Linked DNA regions of Homo sapiens: all the other regions are linked to region 3. Evidence: promoter capture Hi-C in 16 types of primary human blood cells and fetal thymus (Javierre and others, 2016). All regions are on one chromosome and are shown on one strand. Each heading gives the region's core, a stretch centred on a gene start or on the middle of the fragment in contact. The rest is flanking DNA. Distances are from core to core; before and after follow the strand shown. Region 1 has its middle 25 kb from the start of SNORA14B. Region 2 overlaps ARID4B (AT-rich interaction domain 4B). Region 3 holds the start of COA6 (cytochrome c oxidase assembly factor 6). Region 4 overlaps ARID4B (AT-rich interaction domain 4B). Region 5 holds the start of TBCE (tubulin folding cofactor E). Region 6 has its middle 1.8 kb from the start of RBM34. Region 7 overlaps GGPS1 (geranylgeranyl diphosphate synthase 1).

Region 1 (2,991 bases), core at 189-2,688, 730 kb before region 3:
GATAAAAAATCAGCAAAGTATGTGTAAAGTAACATTTCTTACAAAAATAGATTTCTCTCTTCTCTCAACATGGCATCAGTTTTTTCAATATATTGGCAAAGTGGATCCATCCACGGTTCTGGGTCCTGGCTGTGCGTCCGATCGCCTTTGTCAGCTGGGGGAAGACTCAGGGTGACTTGAGCCAGGAGGACCGCGGAGTGGACAGCCGGTACCGCGCGCTCCCCTTTCCCTTGTTCTAAACTGGGCTGGAGAAGTTCATAGGATTTGCTCCGTCTGTACCGCGTGCGCTGTGAGCGTTTTCATCAGGGCAGCAGCAGACGCGAAGGAGCGCGCTGGCGCCCTCTGGCGGCGATCCTAGGGTGCGTCCGCGCCGTGCCTACCCCCCGGCCTCCGGGAGCCTCGAGCCCCAGCGCGACTGTGATTCTGCCAATTACAGCGATCATCATAGCGAAATGAAAATGCTCCGATTATTTGTTTATAAATAAAACCGTTCCTCCTGGAAAATGTGCCAGGATGACATTTTGTGAAGTCCTGTTTCCAGTCTTCGTGAATTAAAATTCTAGATGGGAAACTACCAGACAGGAGAAGATAATTGAAAAGGATAGTTGAAAGGACTTCTGACTTGTCCAAGAAGAGACGCAATTCCAGGTTAATCTTCAGAGTGAGTCAAAGCAACGTAAGTATGATCTTTTTCTACGAAAGGCAAAGAATAAAATGTGGCAGAGGGTTTCTACAACTCCTTACCTTCCCAGTTCTGTAGAATCACCCTACAAAAATAGAGGGGCAGCTGTGGGGTGGCGGAACGAACACGGTTTTTAGAAGCAGGGGCTTGGGTTTGAGTTCTAAATGTGCAGCGTACTGGGGCACTTAACTTCTCTGAGGCTTAGGTGCCTCATTTCCAAAGGGCATGAGAATATCTTCTTTTTTTTTTTTTTTCCTTTTTTTGAGACGGAATCTCGCTCTGTCGCCCAGGCTGGAGTGCAGTGGCGCGATCTCGGCTCACTGCAGCCTCCGCCTCCTGGGTTCCAGGGATTCTTGTGTCTCAGCCTCCCAAGTAGTTGGGACTACAGGCACGAGCCACCACGCCCAGCTAATTTTTGTATTTCTAGTAGAGACTGGGTTTCACCTGGGGTGGGGGGAGGGGGGAGGGATAGCATAGGAGATATACCTAATGTAAATGACGAGTTAATGGGTGCAGCACACCAACACGGCACATGTATACATATGTAACAAACCTGCACGTTGTGCACATGTACCCTAGAACTTAAAGTATAATTAAAAAAAAAAAAAAGGCACACCTGAAATGCCAGCTGCTCCTCTGAGACAGGCGGCTCCCTCAGCCAGCTCAGCTGTTCTAGCAAAAAGGCGTTTGATTCTGGGCCAAGCCCAGAATAGGGATTGTCTCCTCATACTATGCCTCTGGCTTCCTGGAGTACAGATTTATGGCTTCTGAATGTGGGAGGAGAAAAAAAAATCCTTAAATCTAAGTCAAAAGCCTGCTAGAACTACTCTCTACAGCTAAACAGAAATGAGCTACAAACTCCTGTCGTGCGGCTTAAATGGAGAAACTTGTGAAGGGATCTGGTTTTGGGTTACTGACATGCTTGAAGGTGCTCATGAGTGGTGGTTTTCCTGTCTTCAAAGTAAATTTTAGGAACAATAAGTTCACTTTGATCATTATCTCTAGGTTATGGGGTTATGGATGGATTTTTTTTTTTTTTTTTTTTGAGATGGAGTCTCACCCTGTCGCCCAGGCTGGAGTGCAGTGGCGTGATCTCAGCTCACTGCAACCTCTGCCTCCCAGGTTCAAGTGATTCTCCTGCCTCAGCCTCCCCAGTAGCTGGGACTACAGGTGCCTGCCACCACGCCTGGCTAATTTTTGTATTTAGTAGAGACGAGGTTTCACCATATTGGCCAGGCTGGTCTCAAACTCCTGACCTCAGGTGATCCGCCCATCTCAGCCTACCAAAGTGCTGGGATTACAGGCATGAGCCACAGCGCCCAGCCAATTTTTGTATTTTTAGGAGAGACGGGGTTTCACCATATTGCCCAGGCTGGTCTCGAATTCCTGACCTTGTGATCTGCCTGCCTTGGCCTCCCAAAGTGCTGGGATTACAGGCATGAACCACTGAGCCCGGCCGGATTTTTCTTACTTATACTTTCCTGTATTTTTTACATATTTGGCCATAACCACGTACCCTTCATAGAGTAAGAGAAAGCAAAGTAAGGTGTTTTGTCCATGCTTATAGACCCAGGCAAACTGAAGCAGAAGGGGACTTTGTTGTTTGACAGCAGGGTGGGCTTCAGGTACAGCTGGATCTGGTTTCTTTCTCTCTCTTCATCCTTCAGGTCTCACCTCTTGATTGGGCTGTAGTTTTGGGCAGATGCTTCCCTCCTGGTCCCAATACAGCTGTGGTAGCTTCAGACTCATGTCCTTCCAATTTCAAGTCTAGTGGCAACAATTTCTATCCTGTGATTCCTGACAAACTGTTCTTTGCGTCTCTTTGGCTCCAGTTGGCTCATAGATCTGCCTAAAATTGAAGCACTGTGGCAAGGCAGCTGGCAGAACTGCTTGACTCACACCCATCTCACATGCGTCACTCCTGAGATGGAGTTGGAACCCTCTGTCCCAAGCACACGGGCTAAGAGTAGGAGAAGGATAGTTTCCTGGAGGGAATTTGGTGTCCAGCTGTCAAAACAGGGGGAATAGATAGGTAGCAAGAAAATCACAAATGCTGTCTTCCTACCTACTTCCAGAAAGGATTTGCAGTAATGCAGGGAGAAGAAAACTGAGGCTAAGGAAAACTGCTGTAATTAACCCAGAGTTTAGCGCTGAGCTTCCTGGTAGCCAAGGCAAAAGGGAAAGACTTGTTCACAAAATGCTAACCCACCAGGATTAAACAGGAAGAATCAACACCTCTGATAAAAAATTTCCTATGACTCCAAGGCTCAGGGCTGTTTTCTACTTCTGCTTTATTCTTTCCTTCTCAA
Region 2 (2,759 bases), core at 166-2,665, 940 kb before region 3:
GGCCTGTGACTGTATTTCCAGCTACTCAGGAAGTTGAGGCTGGGAGGATTGCTTGAACCCAGGATGTCAAGTCTGCAGTGGAGCTGTGATTGCAGCCACTGTACTCCAGCCTAGGTGACAGAGCAAGACCCCGTTTTAAAAACAAAATCAAAAACACGTTAATTTTGGAATGGATCTCTATAGGAAGTGTCCCCAGCATATGCTCAAAGTCAGAATATATAGTTTATAAGGAATTCTTTAACCGTACAGTTATATGGCACATTACGTTTTTAAAGTTCCATAATCATTAGTTATATCTAATAACATCCCTTTGAGGCAGGTCAGCAACATTTTTCCCTTTTTATGGTCGAAGAAGCAGGTGTAAAGATGTTGAGTGATTTGCCCACAGGCACACATTAAACTGATCACAGAGCCTGTTCTTTTGTTAGTAAACTGAACCATGCTGCCTCTCTACTAGTTATTATAAATAAATAATAAAGTTGTTGCCATTTAGTGACTTTTTGATGGCTTTATTGAATAGTAAGTGTAGTTTACAAACCTTTTGCCTACTTACTTTGTTGAAAAAGTTTTAAATTTAGAATTTACTTGTATCATGGTATGAAACATTTTTATGTAAATTTCCCTGTTTCTTTTTTTTTATTTTTTTTTATTGATCATTCTTGGGTGTTTCTCACAGAGGGGGATTTGGCAGGGTCATAGGACAATAGTGGAGGGAAGGTCAGCAGATAAACAAGTGAACAAAGGTCTCTGGTTTTCCTAGGCAGAGGACCCTGTGGCCTTCCGCAGTGTTTGTGTCCCTGGGTACTTGAGATTAGGGAGTGGTGATGACTCTTAAGGAGCATGCTGCCTTCAAGCATCTGTTTAACAAAGCACATCTTGCACCTCCCTTAATCCATTTAACCCTGAGTGGACACAGCACATGTTTCAGAGAGCACAGGGTTGGGGGTAAGTAAGGTCACAGATCAACAGGATCCCAAGGCCGAAGAATTTTTCTTAGTACAGAACAAAAGGAAAAGTCTCCCATGTCTACTTCTTTCTACACAGACACGGCAACCATCTGATTTCTCAATCTTTTCCCCACCTTTCCCCCCTTTCTATTCCACAAAACCGCCATTGTCATCATGGCCCGTTCTCAATGAGCTGTTGGGTACACCTCCCAGACGGGGTGGCGGCCGGGCAGAGGGGCTCCTCACTTCCCAGTAGGGGTGGCCGGGCAGAGGCGCCCCTCACCTCCCGGACGGGGCGGCTGACCGGGCGGGGGGCTGACCCCCCCACCTCCCTCCCGGACGGGGCGGCTGGCCGGGCAGAGGGGCTCCTCACTTTCCAGTAGGGGCGGCCGGGCAGAGGCGCCCCTTACCTCCCGGATGGGGCGGCTGGCCGGGCGGGGGGCTGACCCCCCCACCTCCCTCCCGGACGGGTGGCTGCCGGGCAGAGACGCTCCTCACTTCCCAGACGGGGTGGTTGCCGGGCGGAGGGGCTCCTCACTTCTCAGATGGGGCGGCTGCCGGGCGGAGGGGCTCCTCACTTCTCAGATGGGGCGGCTGCCGGGCGGAGGGGCTCCTCACTTCTCAGATGGGGCGGTTGCCAGGTGGAGGGTCTCCCCACTTCTCAGACGGGGCGGCCGGGCAGAGACGCTCCTCACCTCCCAGACGGGGTCACGGCCGGGCAGAGGCGCTCCTCACATCCCAGACGGGGCGGCGGGGCAGAGGTGCTCCCCACATCTCAGACAATGGGCGGCCGGGCAGAGACGCTCCTCACTTCCTAGATGGGATGGCGGCCGGGAAGAGGCGCTCCTCACTTCCTAGATGGGATGGCGGCCGGGCAGAGACGCTCGTCACTTTCCAGACTGGGCAGCCAGGCAGAGGGGCTCCTCACGTCCCAGACGATGGGCGGCCAGGCAGAGACGCTCCTCACTTCCCAGATGGGGTGGCAGCCGGGCAGAGGCTGCACTCTCGGCACTTTGGGAGGCCAAGGCAGGTGGCTGGGAGGTGGAGGTTGTAGCGAGCCGAGATCACGCCACTGCACTCCAGCCTGGGCACCATTGAGCACTGAGTGAACCAGACTCCGTCTGCAATCCCGGCACCTCGGGAGGCTGAGGCTGGCGGATCACTCGCGGTTAGGAGCTGGAGACCAGCCCGGCCAACACAGCGAAGCCCCGTCTCCACCAAAAAAATACAAAAACCAGTCAGGCGTGGCAGCGCGCACCTGCAATCGCGGGCACTCGGCAGGCTGAGGCAGGAGAATCAGGCAGGGAGGTTGCAGTGAGCTGAGATGGCAGCAGTACAGTCCAGCTTCGGCTCGGCATCAGAGGGAGACCGTGGAAAGAGAGGGAGAGGGAGACCGTGGGGAGAGGGATAGGGAGAGGGAGGGGGAGGGGGAGGGGGAGCCCCTGTTTCTTAAAAATTAGAAAAAATCAGGCTGGGAGCGGTGGCTCATGCCTGTAATCCCAGCACTTTGGGAGGCCAAGGTGGGCGAATCACTTGAAGTCAGGAGGAGTTCATGACCAGCCTGGCCAACACAGCGAAACCCTGTCTCTACTAAAAATACAATACAAAAATTAGCTGTGCATGGTAGCATGTGCTTCTGGTCCCAGCTACTCAGGCGCTGAGACAGGAGAAGTGCCTGAACCTGGGAGGCGGAGGTTGCAGTGAGCTGAGATCAGGTCACTGCACTCTAGCCTGGGCGACAGAGCAAGATGCAAGACTCTGTCCCCCTCCAAAAAAAAAAAAAAAAAAAAAATTAGAAGAAATCATATGAAA
Region 3 (2,708 bases), core at 1-2,500:
CTGCCCAAGATTAAATACTACCCCTTCAGAAGATCCTGGAAAAGTCTACCAGTGAAATGAACTGGAATTTTTTGGTTACTGTTCATATGTTTGTTGTGTTTTTCGATGCTCTTTAATGTGTCAGTTGACATTCTCCAAAGATCTAGCTGATGTAAGTGCGTCAAATAAGGCTGAATTACCAGGCAAGGTTTTCTCTGCGCCTCAAAGAAACTGTTAATTGACATGCCTCAGAGAGCGCTTCATGTCAGCCTACCACTCACAGTATAAGCTCGATGTATCTTAACAGGGAAGAGAAACACATCAAAGTGTGACTTACCCACTGTTGGGGACAACTTGATTCGAAAGAGCTTCTTAACTTCTTGCATTGAGAAGCATCCTCTAAGTTCTCATCTAAACACTTCCAGTACTCATCCCGGGCCCCCCAGCAGACCTGTCTTTCCTTCATAGATGGGGCTGCCATTCCTACTGCGATGAAGCTGTTGGCCAAAATAATATTTGAGATTAACAATGAACTTTGTAATCTGAAGAGAAGATAAGGAAAGAGGAAAACCGTCAATCTCCTCTTCCTTTAAAACTAAAAAAAAAAAAAAAAACAAAAACAAAACAAAACCATGCTTAGGGATTTTGATGAGGCAACTGAACCCAATCAGTTCTCAGTGGCAGCATAAGGCCACCCGCTCTTGAGGCTTATCTCACACTGTGTGATTTGATCCCTGCTGGGGCGGCAGCGTGGGCTCAGAAAGCCCGGCTGAGAACTGTGGTTCTGTCCCAGTCGCTTAGGGCAGCTCATTTATTCTCTCCGAGCCCGTTTCCCACCAGTAAAGCGGGGACAGCAGTGCCTAGTTTACAGGGTTACTGTTCGAACCTAAGCGCTGTAGAAACAGGTGTGTGGGGGCCACAATCACCAAGCAGGCGATTGGAGTGCCACCCCGTTTTGCACAAGAGGAACCCGCGGCTCGGGGACAGTAAGGGACCTCCCGGGCCCATAGTCCACGCGCGCCCCACCCGGACCCATCAGCAAGCCGACCTCTCTGCCCGCCCACGTCCGGCTTCCTTTCGATGTCGACGGGAGGAAACTGTCACGCAGGCCACCAACCGGCGGTGGAGGGCGCGGTGCCGAGTCCTGCCACTGCAGGGTCGCCCCGCTGGCTCAAGCTCTAGAAGCGTAGACCTCCCCAGCCGCAAAAAGCAACTCACGCGGCGAAACCGCGGACTCTTTTGACCCTTCCGAGCTACCATTTACTTTCCATAGAGGGGCGGGACTTCCTGTTTCGCTTTTATCTGTAAGACCGACTTCCGGCCTTCAAGGGCAAGAGGGGTATATACGTATATATCATCGCACGGTGTGTCCCGGAAGGCTTGATATGCTAGTCCCGCGGGACAAGGCGAGCCGAGGAGTTTGTGTGGAAGTTTGCATCTGAGAGTGCGAGAGCTGGACGGAGTGTTACAGAGCCGCGATGCCTTCTCGTTTTGTTTTGTTTTGTTTTTGATACAGTGTCTCGCTCTTCCGCCCAGTCTCGAGTGCAGTGGTGAGAACACGGCTTACTGCAGCCTCAAAATCCTGGACCCAAAAGATCCTCCCACCTCAGCCTGCCTCCCAGGTAGCTGGGACTACAGGCGCACAACACCATCGCTTCTTGGATTAAAAGAAAAGGATGAAACGGGCCCCAGAAAGAGGCGGTGACGTCCCAGAACCCATGGCAGGGGAGTTGGGAAAATAAATATTTGTATTGTTTTAATCTCCCTTGTGGCTTTTTTTAACCCCCGAAACAGCAAGGTATTTTTAAAAGGGATGAAGAGAGTTGCTTCAAATGTTTTGAGACGTTGTTATTTTTAATATGTGAGTGAATATCTTAGAAACAAAATGAACAAGAAATAAAAATTTTAGAAAATATATGAGTTAATCTCTCAGCAGAGTCTTTATTAAAAAGCATGTTTATGGTCAGTCATCTGGCACCCCGTTCTCTTAATAGATCCCATCTGCTCCATCATCTAGTTCTAAAACATTTATATAAGATGCAATTTACAATTTTGCACTCAGTGCAGTTTGATCCATTCCAAATTCAATATATGCAGACTTTTCCGGGTGGCGATGTGAGGCTACGTACCACCAAATATGTGTTCTGCAATATAGAAAGTATTTCCCCCATAGTTAATGCACTCTCATAGTGGAGTTACTTTAGCTTTACCAGAGCCACCCCCTTCTTTTACATCATGTCTATTGACGTCAGTTTACATATAGATATCTTTTAAATATGACTGATGGGATATAAAAGGAATGAAAGGAAAGAGTCTTAGATGACTTCTGAGTCTAAAAAGGAAATGTGTTTTAAATTTAAAATTTATAAGTACCTAATGAAAAATACATATGAAACAAAGTGAAGTGACAGAATTACAAAGAAAAAAAATGCCTGGTCATATTGGGTAATTTTAACAGGACTTTCTCACTAATCGTTAAGACTAGCAAGAGAAAAGTTAAGGATATAGGAAACGTGAATAACATGATGTAAAAATGACGCAATTAATATGTACAGAACAACACGACCAAAATCAGAATGTACAGTTTTTTGAAAGCAGACACATCACCACAGTCAACCACATACTTAGTTATAAAGCAACTCAAGAAATTTTGAAAATTGAAATAATTGTCATTTTTTACTACAGTGCATTTAAGATAGAAATCAATAAAGAACTGTAAAAACAAGCCT
Region 4 (3,078 bases), core at 46-2,545, 850 kb before region 3:
AACTACTACTGCTCCTGGCAGGCACGGTGGGTCATGCCTGTAATCCCAGCACTTTGGGAAGCTGACGCTAGCGGATCACCTGAGGTCAGGAGTTTGAGACCAGTCTGGCCAACATGGTGAAACCCCGTCTGTACTAAAAATACAAAAATTAGCTGGGTGTGGCTGGGCGCGGTGGCTCACGCCTGTAATCCCAGCACTTTGGGAGGCCAAGGCAGGCAGATCACCTGAGGTCAGGAGATCGAGACCATCCTGGCTAACATGGTGAAACCCTGTCTCTACTAAAAACACCAAAAAATTAGCCGGGCATGGTGGTGGACGCCTGTAGTCCCAGCTACTCAGGAGGCTGAGGCAGGAGAATGGTGTCAACCCGGGAGGCGGAGCTTGCAGTGAGCCGAGATCACGCCACTGCACTCCAGCCTGGGTGACAGAGCCAGACTCCATCTAAAAAAAAAAAAATTAGCTGGGCGTGGTGGCAGGTGCCTGTTATCCCAGCTACTAGGGAGGCTGAGGCAGCAGGATTGCTTGAACCCAGGAAGCGGAGGTTGCAGTGAGCCGAGATGACACCACTGCACTCCAGCCTGGGCGACAGAGCAAGACTCTGTCTCAAAAACAAGACAAAACAAAAAAAGAATTACTACTGCTCCTTATACATATTTTTGTCATTTATATTTATTGTCTATTTTTTCTTCCCCACGAATTTGTAAGTTCCTTAAAGTTAGGAATGCTGTCTTACTCGTATTCATACTTAAAGTGTCTGTCATAGTGTGTAAAATATAACAGATGATAAATAGCTACCAAACCTTTTGGTGCTTAGTGTTTTCACAAGTGTTTTTGTAAAAGCAAATCTGTAGTGTAGTGTAAACATTTTCTTGAGTTAAAAGCTTACCTTAAATGTTTTTGGAATAGGAAAAATTGTGCTGTTTATTAAAGTTAAATATTGTACCATGGGAACATTTAAGATAACATCTAGAAAATAGATGTCCTTAGATTTGTATTTGATCACCTTACCAAAACCTGAATGTATGGAGTGTGTTTAAATTGAGAAATACAGATTCATCATTAGCAAATTAATGGTTGTCATTTATTTTTCTCTGCCCAATTAGAAAACCTAATAGTTGATCAACATAGGCTTTAAAAAAAAAATTACCTTTCTTTGTTGTACTAGCTTTTAAATTAAAAAGACAATCTCGCTAAAGCAGTGGCATTAGGCACATGATTTTCCAAATTGAAAAATGCTATGTTTTTATTTATTTAGATTACCAGTTGAATATCCTAACTTTTACTGTTACAAATCTGTATATTTAAGCCAGAGTAACTGTAAAGCCTAGCTGTATATTTGGAATCATTTTCTCTGCAGTTACTCCTAATCATGTTCTGTAACAGTAGGCTCCATAGCCTATTTTTTCTTTTATTTGATTCAGCACCTGGCATAGTACCTACACTTACAGGTGCTCAAGTGTTTGTTGAATGGATGAAAGTCATTGAATTGGTGAGTTCCTCAATCTTAACCTACTACCCTGCTCCTTGCAGGTTGCTTCAGGACCAGCTCCCTGCTGCCACAGCCCTTGGCCACAGCAGCAAGAAGCTAGTCCTTCCCTTGTAATTGATAAATTGGGGAACTATTTTATTACTTGAAGATTTCCCTAAGTCTGAATCTTCAGGTATTGTAGATCAAATTTGTTCCCCACTTTACTGATTATGTAAGCTTGAAGTATATACAGTGGGGCTGCATAAAATGAAGGATACTTGCAGTCAGCTAATGGGACCCATACTTTTATAGTACCTTGAGGAGCAATAATAGAATTAGTTTTGATGTTTAACTCTGATCCAGTTTCGCATAAGTTGAGAGTAGGTATTCTTGAACCTGTGATCCTGATTTGAAAAATAGCTCTCTCATATGGTAAAAAAAACAAAACAAAACAAAACAAAACCACGAACAGTCTTGCTAGTCCCTTTTCTCATATGGGAATTTTTACTGTGGGGATTCTAACTATTGGGATACTTTTTAAGGCATATTCCTCTATAAAACATAAAATGTCTAGACTTACCTGGTTTTGAACAGCTTAGTGTTAAAAGAGTAACTTTGATTACGTAAAAAGCCTTTGAAGTATTTTAATGAACACTAGTCTTTGCTATTGGTAAGAAATCTGCTTGTTTTATTAAAATGCTTAATTGAAGAAAATAATATTCTTCTGTGATTAAAATTAGGAAGAAATAGAACCATTTCCAGAAGAAAGGGAGAACTTTCTTCAGCAATTGTACAAATTTATGGAAGATAGAGGTGAGTATTTTTTATTTATCATTAACGTGGTAAGTTTTGGACAGATAATTAGTATCTTAAAAATAAGAATAGAATTTTGTTTACTGAACTTTATGTCATCAGTAATTATGGCTGTCTTTTTGACTCTGATATCACCAGCACCTAGCATAGCGCCTGTCACGTAACAAGTAGAATGAGGAATTTGATAGCATTTTGACAGATATTGTGGCTATGGACACATAAATGCACTTATTACCCTGTCCTGCCAATCCCTTTACCTATCCATGGGTCCCTAAAGAACAGTAGCAAAATGGGAATTAAGCCAGAAATAGATAAAGAAGTGTGACAAAGTCTCAAAAGTGAGCCTTGGCTCAGCTTATTTAATCTGCCAGAAGCTGCTAAGGCCACGGAAGGATTGAAGGAAGAAGAATAACTTAGGGTAATGAACTAATCCTTCCGTAACCTCAACACTGTTATTCTCTAGCTTATCTTCTTGGTCAGAGTCTACTTTCTTCTTTTCTGGGAAGATGCTTGTAAGGGAGTAAGGAGAGGCTTTCTAGCTGGAAGGGAAGGGCAAAATGAATGATTAGTGTTTGGAAACACCACAATACTCTGGGAATTGAACGTTTTCTAAATCCCTGATTGTAATGCTGATGAGTAGAAACTGACTCTGTTTGTCATGTTTAGTTTTCATAAATGATAACAACGCCTAACACAATATAAGTATATTTTCTTTTTCAATATAAAATGTCTTTGATTCTTGTATTATTTCTTTACATGAATGGAGGGTTGGCCTAAGAAGTATGCTGTTTCATAGG
Region 5 (3,034 bases), core at 5-2,504, 990 kb before region 3:
GAGGCTGAGGTGGGAGATATGCTTGAACCTGGGAGGCGTGGTTGCAGTGAGCTGAGATTGGGCCACTGCACACCAGCCTTGGGCGACAGAGCAAGACTCCATATCAAAAAAAAAAAAAAAAAAAAAAAGCAGGCTGTCCACTTAGATTAAAAAAAAAACCCAGAGATATGCTGTTTACAACAGTATATAAAATATGAGCATACAGAAAAGTTAAAACTTAAGAATATGAAAAACGTTTGAAGCAAGTATCAAAACACAGCGGCCGTGGCTAAATTAATGCCAGAGAAAAGAAAAGTCTTCTCTCTTCATCTCTACCTCCACTAACTTTCTCTAACAGTTTGGCAATTTGTTAACCCCGTCTTCCTGCCAGGACTGCTTCTCTGAGGATAAGGCTGTCACACCATCATTTGGATCCACCCACAACTTAGAACAGTCCCCATTTGGTAGTAAACACCAAGTAAAAATAGTTACTTTAGGCCGGGCGCGGTGGCTCACGCCTGTAATCCCAGCAGTTTGGGAGGCCGAGGCGGGTGGATCATCTGAGATCAGGAGTTCGAGAGCAGCCTGGCCAACATGGAGAAACCCTGTCTCTACTAAAAATACAAAAATTAGCCGAGCGTGGTGGCACGCGCCTGTAATCCCAGCTACTCGGGAGGCTGAGGCAGCAGAATCGCTTGAACCCAGGAGGCGGAGGTTGCAGTAAGCCGAGATCAGAGATCCGCGCCACTGCAGTCCAGCCTGGGCGACAGAGCAAGACTGTCTCAAAAGAACAAACAGTTACTTTAAGTGCTCTCCACCTATTTAACGTTATTTCTCTGTCATCACCAATGTTAACTGATTCGGAAGGACGAGGCTGTTCCTCTAAGGTGACACCTTGTAAAAGTCGTTGGTCGCCTGTACCATTTTCACCTCTTCCAAAGTGACATGCCAATTCTCTGAGAGAAGCTTAAAATGCTAGAGATCACGTGCGGCTACTCCTAAATAAGGCCTTCCAGGAGGCGCAGGGTGGCCCCAACCCAGCCGGCTGGACCGCCTCCCAGCGCACGGAGCAGGCAACGCCCGGCTCTGGCAATCTGGGAAGATTCCAGGAAAGGAAGAAAAGGCCAAGAGCACTGCAGGGTGACGCACCGGCCAGGAATGCTCGTTCCGAAAGCTCCCCGAACCTCTGAAGCTCACCTGCCCGCGGAGACTCCAGGTGTTCCCAGCAGCAGCCCCTCCAGCCAACTGCCCAGCAGCGAAGCTTGAGGCTCTGGCCGGAAGTGCTGTAGGAAGTCCCGCCTCCACCGGAGTGAGGTACGGCTGCTGGAGCATAGACGAGAATGTCAGCGACAGTATTGGAGGCCAGAGGAGTGGTCAGCCCACCCAAGCCCCGCCTCTGGGCGGGGGCCCAAGCGATTTCCGAGTGCTGAAACCTGGGATGACAGAGCAGCCCAGGGAAAGCGCGTGTTCCAGTTTACTAGATACCACAGAAGTGAGTTACAAATCCTGTAAGAGGTTCAGTTCCATGCGTATTGAGAGTCTACCACGTAGGCAGCATGCGGTGGTCAAAGAGAAGAATATAGTGTTGATACCGCCAAAACTAAAAAAAAAAAAAAAATTACCTAGTTAAAGCATAAGGCAGAATGAAAGTAAATGCAGTGATAGAAAAAATAATAGAAAAAGCAACTATCCTAGACATGTTAATTTCTGTTGAAACCGCCTTTGCAAAATTTTGACAGTAAGAGAAATCTGACATGGTTTACTCCTATCTTGATTCTAGCCTCACAGACTGGCTGTCTTTGCTCATTCCTGGGCACAGGACAAACTAACTTTGGGAGAAATTTAGTTTATAGTTTAAATGATAATAACCCTTCCCCAAAACTGCCCTTTTAAAACTAAATGAAAGGCCACCAAGTTAGGAGAATGAGAGGGTCCTGAATTCTTCTAAGTTGTAATTGTAGTTAAATGATTACCACCCATTATTCCACAGGTCACAAATTCGCATCTTCCCCAATCATTCCTGCAGATAACATCACTGTTGTAGAACCTAAGATTGGCCTTTTGAGATGTCTTTTCAGGTTTTTGCATTTCTGACAAGTGGATGGCCCCACCCTGACTCATCAACCTGGGGATCCACGAACCAACTCAGTGCAAGAGGACAGCTTCTACTTCTTATGATTTCACCTCTGACCCAACCAGTCAGCACTCCCCATTCCCTGGCCCCGTACCTGTCAAACTATCTGAAAAACCCCCTAACCTCTGAGCCTTTGGTGAGATGGATTTGAGTAACAACTCTGTCTCCCACGTGGCATGGCCAGCCTCGCGTCAATTAAACTTTCTTTACTGCAATGCCATGGTTTCTGTCAATTAATTTTGTTTGTGCAGCAGGCAGAAAGAACCCATTGGTGGATACCACAGACTCCACAACAAGAGCAGTTTGGGTAGAGTGAGTGTTAGCATTCCAAAACCAGACTGAAGTGAGGTGAAGTGGAAAGGAAATTGAGGGAGCAAAGCCAAATGACTCTTCCAAGAAGTGACCTTCTAATTGTCATATTAAATGGACACAAACAGTCAGTATCCTGCTGGATGTCTCTACTGTTTTATACTTTGATAGTTCACTCCTTGAAACTAGAAACTAGATATTACAGTGATTGTTTTTTCTTTGGAAGAGGGGATTAAAAACCACATTGGAAATCTGATAAAAGCTATCTACCTACACACAAATTTTGCGTATGATTTCAAGGACTGATTAATCCTTTGAAGCCCATGAATAGGCCTCAAAGGAATCCATGGATCCCAAACTAAGACTCTCCTCAGCAGGGCACGGTGGCTCACACCTATAATCCCAGCATTTTGGGAGGCCGAGGCAAGCAGATCACTTGAGCTCAAGAGTTCAAAACTAGCCTGGGCAATGTGGCGAAACCCTGTCTCTAAAAAAACACAAAAATTAGCCAGGCGTGGTGGTAGGTGCCTGTAGTCCCAGCTACTCAGGACGTTGAGTTGGGAGAATCTCTTGAGCAGGGGAGACAGAGGTTGCAGTGAGCTGAGATCTCAA
Region 6 (3,049 bases), core at 108-2,607, 790 kb before region 3:
CCCGAGTAGCTGGGACTACAGGCACGTGCCACTGCACCCAGCTAATTTTTTGTATTTTTAGTAGAGAGGGGTGTTTCACCGTGTTAGTCAGGATGGTCTCGATCTCCTGACCTCGTAATCTGCCCGCCTTGACCTCACAAAGTGTTGGGATTACAGGCATGAGCCACCGCGCCCACCCAAGATGATACGTTTCTTAACGGTGTTCTCCAAAACGTTTTTTTTCCTACTGAAAAAACTTTAGAGTGGGGTCTTGTTAATTTCTTTTTTTTGTTTGTTTTGTTTTGTTTTAGACAGAATCTCGCTCTGTCGCCCAGGCTGGAGTATAATGGCGCCATCTTGGCTCACTGCAACCTCTGCCTCCCGGGTTCAAGTGGTTCTCCTGCATCAGCCTCCCGACTAGCTGGGATTACAGGCGCCCGCCACCATGCCTAGCTAATTTTTGTATTTTTAGTAGAGATGGGGTTTCACCATGTTGGCCAGGCTGATCTCAAACTTCTGACCTCAGATGATCCACCCACCTCGGCCTCCCAAAGCGCTGGGATTACAGGCGTAAGCCACCGCACCCGGCCTCCTTTTGTTTTTTTGAGACGGAGTTTCGCTCTTGTTGCCCAGGCTGGAGTGCAAATGGCGCAGTCGCTGATCTGAAACTCCTGGGCTTGCATTCCTTCCGTCTTGGTCTCCCAAAGTGCTGGGATTATAGGCGTGAGCCACCTTGTCCCACCATGTCCTCATATTTTAAAAAACTCTCAAAGCAGTAAGTGATCTCTAAATGGTTAAAAACAGCACTGAACAGCAATGAAGATAATTTTAAAACTATCTGCAACCACAGCTGCTTTCGCAGTCTGTTTTCTTCTATAAGTATCTGCTACCTAGCTGGGCACAGTGGGTCATACCTGTAATCCCAGCACGTTGGGAGGTCAAGGCGAGCGGATCACCTGAGGTCAGGAGTTCGAGACCAGCCCGACCAACATGGAGAAACCCTGTCTCTATTAAAAATATAAAATTAGCCAGGCATGGTGGTGCATGCCTGTAATCCCAACTACTCGGGAGGCTGAGGCAGGAGAATCGCTTGAACCTGGGAGGCGGAGGTTGCAATGAGCCAAGATCGTGCCACTGCACTCCAGCCTGGGCAACAAGAGTGAAACTCCGTCTCAAAAAATACACAGAATAGAATTCTATAATTCTAGAAATATAGAATATAATTTCTTCACTGGACTGGATAGAACAGATTTTTGAGTTGTATCGCATGCATGTATGGATAAGCTTTCTTCATCTTTGTGAAATACCAGAAGATCAAGATTATGGGAAACCAAAATAAGGGGCCCAGTAATCAAAACCCAGGGCCGAGCAGTTGAATATTGTGGATTTTTTTCATAAATTTCTCTGAAGGGGGAAGTAAAAGTCACATATATTCCCAGTCAACTTGGTTGAGTAGCTTTCAAAAAGCTTAGGCTGTCCCCAAAAGACTCAAAGTCAAATCCTGGCTGGATGCAGTGGCTCACGCCTGTAATTCCAACCCTTTGGGAGGCCAAGGCAGGAGGACTGCTCAAGCTCAGGAGTTCAAGACCGGCCTGGGAAACACAGTGAAACCCCAATCTCTATTTAAAAAAAAAAAAAAAAAAAAAGGCCAGGCGCGGTGGCTCACACCTGTACTCCCAGCACTTTGGGAGGCTGAGGTGGGCGGATCACAAGGTCAGGGGTTCGAGACCAGCCTGGCTAACATGGTGAAACCCGGTCTCTACTAAAAAAATACAAAAATTAGCTGGGCATGGTGGCATGCACCTGTAATCCCAGCTACTTGGGAGGCTGAGGCAGGAGACTCACTTGAACCCGGGAGGCGGAGGTTGCAGTGAGCTGAGATCGCGCCACTGCAGTCCAGCCTGGGCGACAGAGCGAGACTCTGTCTCCAAAAAAAAAAAAAAAATTAGCTGGGCATGGTGCTGCTGCTTGCAGTTCCAGCTACTCCGTGGTGGGAGGATGGCTTGAGCCCAGGAAGTCAAGGCTGCAGTGCGCCGTGATCTCACCACTACACTCCAGTCTGGGTGACAGAGCAACACCTTGTCTGAAAGAAAATAAGAACAAAGTCAAATCCTATTTTGCCACTCAAACTATTGGATGATTTAACTAGTAATCTTTTATTACCCTGAGAGTCAATTTAACAAATATTCACTATGTACAGCTAATAGAGACACAGCATACATGATGAATAAAACATAATCCTTACTGTCTTGCCTTTACATCTAAAGAGACTGTAACTAACACTAAAGCAGACCAAAAATGATTATAGTAAGTACCATGGGGGCTTGGGAAAATATCCCTATTGTAAATAGCAAAGAATTTTTTTTTTTTTTTTTTTGAGCCAGGGTCTGCCGCTTAGGCTGGAGTGTAGTGATGCGATCACAGCTTACTGCAGCCTCGACCTTCCAGGGCTCAAGGGATCCTCTTGCCCGAGCCTCTCAAAGTGCTGGGACTACAGGCGCCGAGCGCGAAGGTGCCCGTCTAATTTCTTTTCTGTAGAGAATAAGTCTCGCTAGATCGACCAGGCTGGTTCAAACTCCTAGTCCTCACGCAATCCTCCCACTTCGGCCTCCAAATGTGTTAGGATTACAGGCGAGCCACCGCACCTGGCTGCAAAGAAATACTAAGTTAGACAGTATCTGAGGTAGGCCTTGAAGGATGGACATTATTTTGCAGAAGGGGAAAGAGGAGGGCAATTACAACAGAGGGGACAGGAATAACAACTGTAGAGGCAGTGGAGAAAGCAGGCTAGAATGTCAGGGGCTGGAGGGAGATGAGTCTGGGAAGACGGGCTGAGAACACCTTGAAGCGTTTTGAATGCCAAGTATCTACTTTTCCAGGTAGAATAGCAGGTCCGCATTACAATCTTTCGAATTGTATGTTGACGTGACTCGTTAGAGTTGTGGTTTTTATTTTGGAATAATGTCATGTTTCAGACAAGTTGCAAGAAGAGTACAAAGAATTCCTTTGTACTCTTCACAGCGATTAGCAAATTGTAAACACCCCACTGCGTTCACCCCTAACCGCATTT
Region 7 (2,849 bases), core at 283-2,782, 960 kb before region 3:
AAATGGTTACATAAAAAGTTAAAACTAAAATACTGTTTTCTTTTTTTTTTTTTGGAGATGGAATTTCGCTCTTGTCACCCAGGCTAGAGTGCAATGGTGTGATCTCGGCTCACTGCAACCTCCGCCCCCTGGGTTCAAGCGATTCTCCTGCCTCAGCCTCCCAAGTAGCTGGGATTACAGGCACCTGCCACCACACCTGGCTAATTTTTGTAATTTTAGTAGAGACAGGGTTTCACTATGTTGGCCAGGCTGGTGTCAAACTCCTGACCTCAGGTAATTCACCTGTGTTGGCCTCCCAAAATGCTGGGATTATGGGTTTTTTTGTTTGTTTGTTTGTTTGTGGAGATGAAGTTTTGCTCTGTCACCTAGGCTGGAAAGCAATGGCACGATCTTGGCTCGGCTCACCACAACCTTCGCCTCCTGGGTTCAAGGGATTCTCCTGTCTCAGCCTCCCGAGTAGCTGGGATTACAGGTGTGCGTCACTACGCCTAGCTAATTTTTTGTATTTTTTTTCTGAGATCGAGTTTTGCTCTTGTTGCCCAGGCTGGGGTACAGTGTCACGATCTTGGCTCACTGCAACCTCCACCTCCTAGGTTCAAGCGATTCTCCTGCCTCAGCCTCCTGAGTAGCTGGGATTACAGTCGTGCGCCACTAAATCCAGCTAATTTTTTGTATTTTTAGTAGAGACGGTTTCATCATGTTGGCCAGGCTGGTCTTGAATTCCTGACCTCAGGTGATCCACCCACCTCAGCCTCCCAAAGTGTAGGGATTACATGCGTGAGCTACCGCGCCCGGCCAATTTTTTGTACTTTTAATAGAGACAGGGTTTCCCCATGTTGGCCAGGCTGGTCTCGAACTCCTGACCTCAAGTCGTCCACATGCTTTGGCCTCTCGAAGTGCTGGGATTACAGGTGTGACCCACCACGCCCGGCCTATTATTATTATTTTTGAGACAGGGTCTCGCTCTGTCACCCAGGCTGGAGTGCAGTGGCACAATCACGGCCTACTGCAGCCTTGACCTCCTAGGCTCAAGTCCCCTGAGTAGCTGGGACTACAAGAACAAGCCACCATGCCTGGCTAATTTTATTTTTATTTATTTATTTTTTGTAGAGGCAGGGTTTCGCCCTGTTGCCCAGGCTGGTCTCAAACCCCTGGGCTCAAAAGCAATCTGTCCCACTTGGCCTCCCAAAGTGCTGGGATAATAAGTCAGCCACTGCACTTGGCCTGTATCACTTAAACACATTTTTTTGAAGATGAAAAACAGAGTCTCAATGTGAAATTTCATTTTTCATTTTACTTTTGAATGTTATATAGAAAACAGTACAATATATGGCTTATTTTTGAGGTACTACAGTTTTAATATTTTTTTCCCCTCTGATGACATGCTAGTGTTTAGCCTGATGCTTTTAAGTTTCCCCCCCTTTTTTTTTTCTGAGACGGGGTCTCCCTTAATCACCCAGGCTGGGGTGCAGTGGTGTGATCTTGGCTTACTGCAGCCTCAACCTCCCAGGCTCCGGTAATCATCCCACCTCAGTCCCCCAGGTAAGCTGGGACTACAAGGGCGTATCACATGCCTGGCTAATTTTTTGTATTTTTAGTAGAGACAGGGTTTTGCCATGTTGCCCAGGCTGGTCTTGAACTCCTGGGCTTAAGCCATCTGCCCACTTCGGTCTCCCAAAGTGCTGGGAGTACAGATGTGAGCCACCGCGCCTGGCTGAGTTCCAAAATAATTTCTAGTACTGAGGCTAATCACAGAGATCTCTCAAAATTAAAAGATTACTGCTTCCTCTTTAAGATCTAAACATTATTGTCTCTCTTTTTGGAGCCCTTCTTCCTCCACTGCCAGCTTCATCTCTCCCTAATCCCACCCTTCACCTCATCTAGGGCCCCACACTAAGGCAAATAAACAAACATAAACATAAGATGACAGCAAGTATGAGAAATTTAAAAATAAAAATAATTTTCTTTACTAATTTCAGAAAATCCTTTTTTTTTTTTGAGACAGTGTCTCACTCTGTTGCCCAGGCTGGAGTGCAGTGGCGTGATCTCGGCTCACTGCAACCTCTGCCTCCTAGGCTCCTGTGACTCCCGTGCCTCAGCTGGGACTACAGGCATGCGCTACCATACTTGGCTAATATTTGTATTTTTAGTAGATACAGGGTTTCACCATGTTGGCCAGGTTGACTTCAGAAAATACTGATAGCATTATTATTATTTATTAGCAAGAGTAATATTACAACAGTATAAATGACCTGGCACACCTCTAAGTTACTTTAGTAACTCTGAAGCTCTCTGTAAAAAAATAAGTGTGTTATGTGCATAGTGCAATGTCATATTTCTTTAGTAGTATCTTTTGAGGTTGTATTCCATCATGGATCAAGAACGTACTTGAATAAAAAGGTGAGGTACCTAGTGATAATTTTAAATATGTTATCTAATGTCTTAAAACATTATTTCCAAGTAATGAGAATTAAAAAAAAGGAAGTCACAGAAGGTGGTCACAGCATAAGTAAGCATTATGGTTAAAATGTAACTGTAGGCAGTCCTTGCTTTGTAAGTAGCAGAGTAAGAGACATTCAAGCGATGCTTGTTAGACTTTTGTCAGCACTGATAACTGGCTTGCTATTAATGCCAGCCCAGTTCCAGCTAGTGTTTGTGAGCGTGTTCTAAAGGATGTCTGGCAGTAAGAGCTGGGTAGAGTGAAAGTGAAACTGTGCCATGTTTCTCACTGGGAGATACTGAAATAAGTTACTAACTGCTGGATAAATGTCACTCAAAAGCAGTCTCTTGGCTTTTTCTTAAACAGTGGGCAACCTTCCCTTTGAATTCTCCATTTCTGTCATTCCCTC

Evidence for each region. Contacts are between HindIII fragments. The CHiCAGO score rates a contact against its expected background, and 5 or more counts as called.
Region 1: a fragment that was not itself captured here is called in contact with the fragment with the promoter of COA6 in region 3 in 1 of 17 cell types (neutrophils); the score reaches 5.5 in neutrophils.
Region 2: a fragment that was not itself captured here is called in contact with the fragment with the promoter of COA6 in region 3 in 1 of 17 cell types (neutrophils); the score reaches 6.7 in neutrophils.
Region 4: a contact is called between a fragment that was not itself captured here and the fragment with the promoter of COA6 in region 3, in 1 of 17 cell types (activated CD4 T cells). The highest score is 5.4, in activated CD4 T cells.
Region 5: the fragment with the promoter of TBCE here is called in contact with the fragment with the promoter of COA6 in region 3 in 4 of 17 cell types (neutrophils, total B cells, M2 macrophages and 1 more); the score reaches 8.6 in neutrophils.
Region 6: a contact is called between a fragment that was not itself captured here and the fragment with the promoter of COA6 in region 3, in 2 of 17 cell types (erythroblasts and total B cells). The highest score is 6.6, in erythroblasts.
Region 7: a contact is called between a fragment that was not itself captured here and the fragment with the promoter of COA6 in region 3, in 1 of 17 cell types (neutrophils). The highest score is 5.3, in neutrophils.

The regions. Positions count from the first base shown.
Region 1 is chr1:235,101,715-235,104,705 of GRCh38, reverse strand. No RefSeq gene overlaps it. Among named protein-coding and RNA genes, the nearest start is that of SNORA14B, 25 kb to the left of the region's middle. RefSeq lists a silencer at 257-426. The HindIII fragment of the contact is 9,082 bases long and covers 1-2,991 here.
Region 2 is chr1:235,308,064-235,310,822 of GRCh38, reverse strand. All of the region lies in intron 2 of ARID4B (AT-rich interaction domain 4B), which reads left to right. Among named protein-coding and RNA genes, the nearest start is that of ARID4B, 19 kb to the left of the region's middle. The HindIII fragment of the contact is 3,231 bases long and covers 1-2,759 here.
Region 3 is chr1:234,371,998-234,374,705 of GRCh38, reverse strand. COA6 (cytochrome c oxidase assembly factor 6) reads right to left here and starts at 1,250. Exons shown (of 3, transcript NM_001206641.3): 1 at 1,028-1,250; 2 at 317-476. The coding sequence starts at 1,239. COA6-AS1 (COA6 antisense RNA 1) reads left to right here and starts at 1,113. Exons shown (of 2, transcript NR_125961.1): 1 at 1,113-1,283; 2 at 1,496-1,899. RefSeq lists enhancers at 867-1,416, 1,238-2,062. The HindIII fragment of the contact is 9,162 bases long and covers 1-2,708 here.
Region 4 is chr1:235,223,906-235,226,983 of GRCh38, reverse strand. ARID4B (AT-rich interaction domain 4B) reads left to right here. Exons shown (of 24, transcript NM_016374.6): 12 at 2,209-2,281. Among named protein-coding and RNA genes, the nearest start is that of MIR4753, 35 kb to the right of the region's middle. The HindIII fragment of the contact is 824 bases long and covers 884-1,707 here.
Region 5 is chr1:235,365,647-235,368,680 of GRCh38, reverse strand. TBCE (tubulin folding cofactor E) reads right to left here and starts at 1,254. Exons shown (of 17, transcript NM_003193.5): 1 at 1,177-1,254. It overlaps LOC124904559 (a long non-coding RNA gene), which reads left to right and starts at 1,261. Exons shown (of 2, transcript XR_007066957.1): 1 at 1,261-1,471; 2 at 2,058-2,328. RefSeq lists enhancers at 955-1,294, 834-1,547. The HindIII fragment of the contact is 3,498 bases long and covers 1,243-3,034 here.
Region 6 is chr1:235,161,566-235,164,614 of GRCh38, reverse strand. No RefSeq gene overlaps it. Among named protein-coding and RNA genes, the nearest start is that of RBM34, 1.8 kb to the right of the region's middle. RefSeq lists enhancers at 3,031-3,049, 2,912-3,049. The HindIII fragment of the contact is 183 bases long and covers 1,266-1,448 here.
Region 7 is chr1:235,336,966-235,339,814 of GRCh38, reverse strand. All of the region lies in intron 2 of GGPS1 (geranylgeranyl diphosphate synthase 1), which reads right to left. Among named protein-coding and RNA genes, the nearest start is that of GGPS1, 9.8 kb to the right of the region's middle. The HindIII fragment of the contact is 7,848 bases long and covers 1-2,849 here.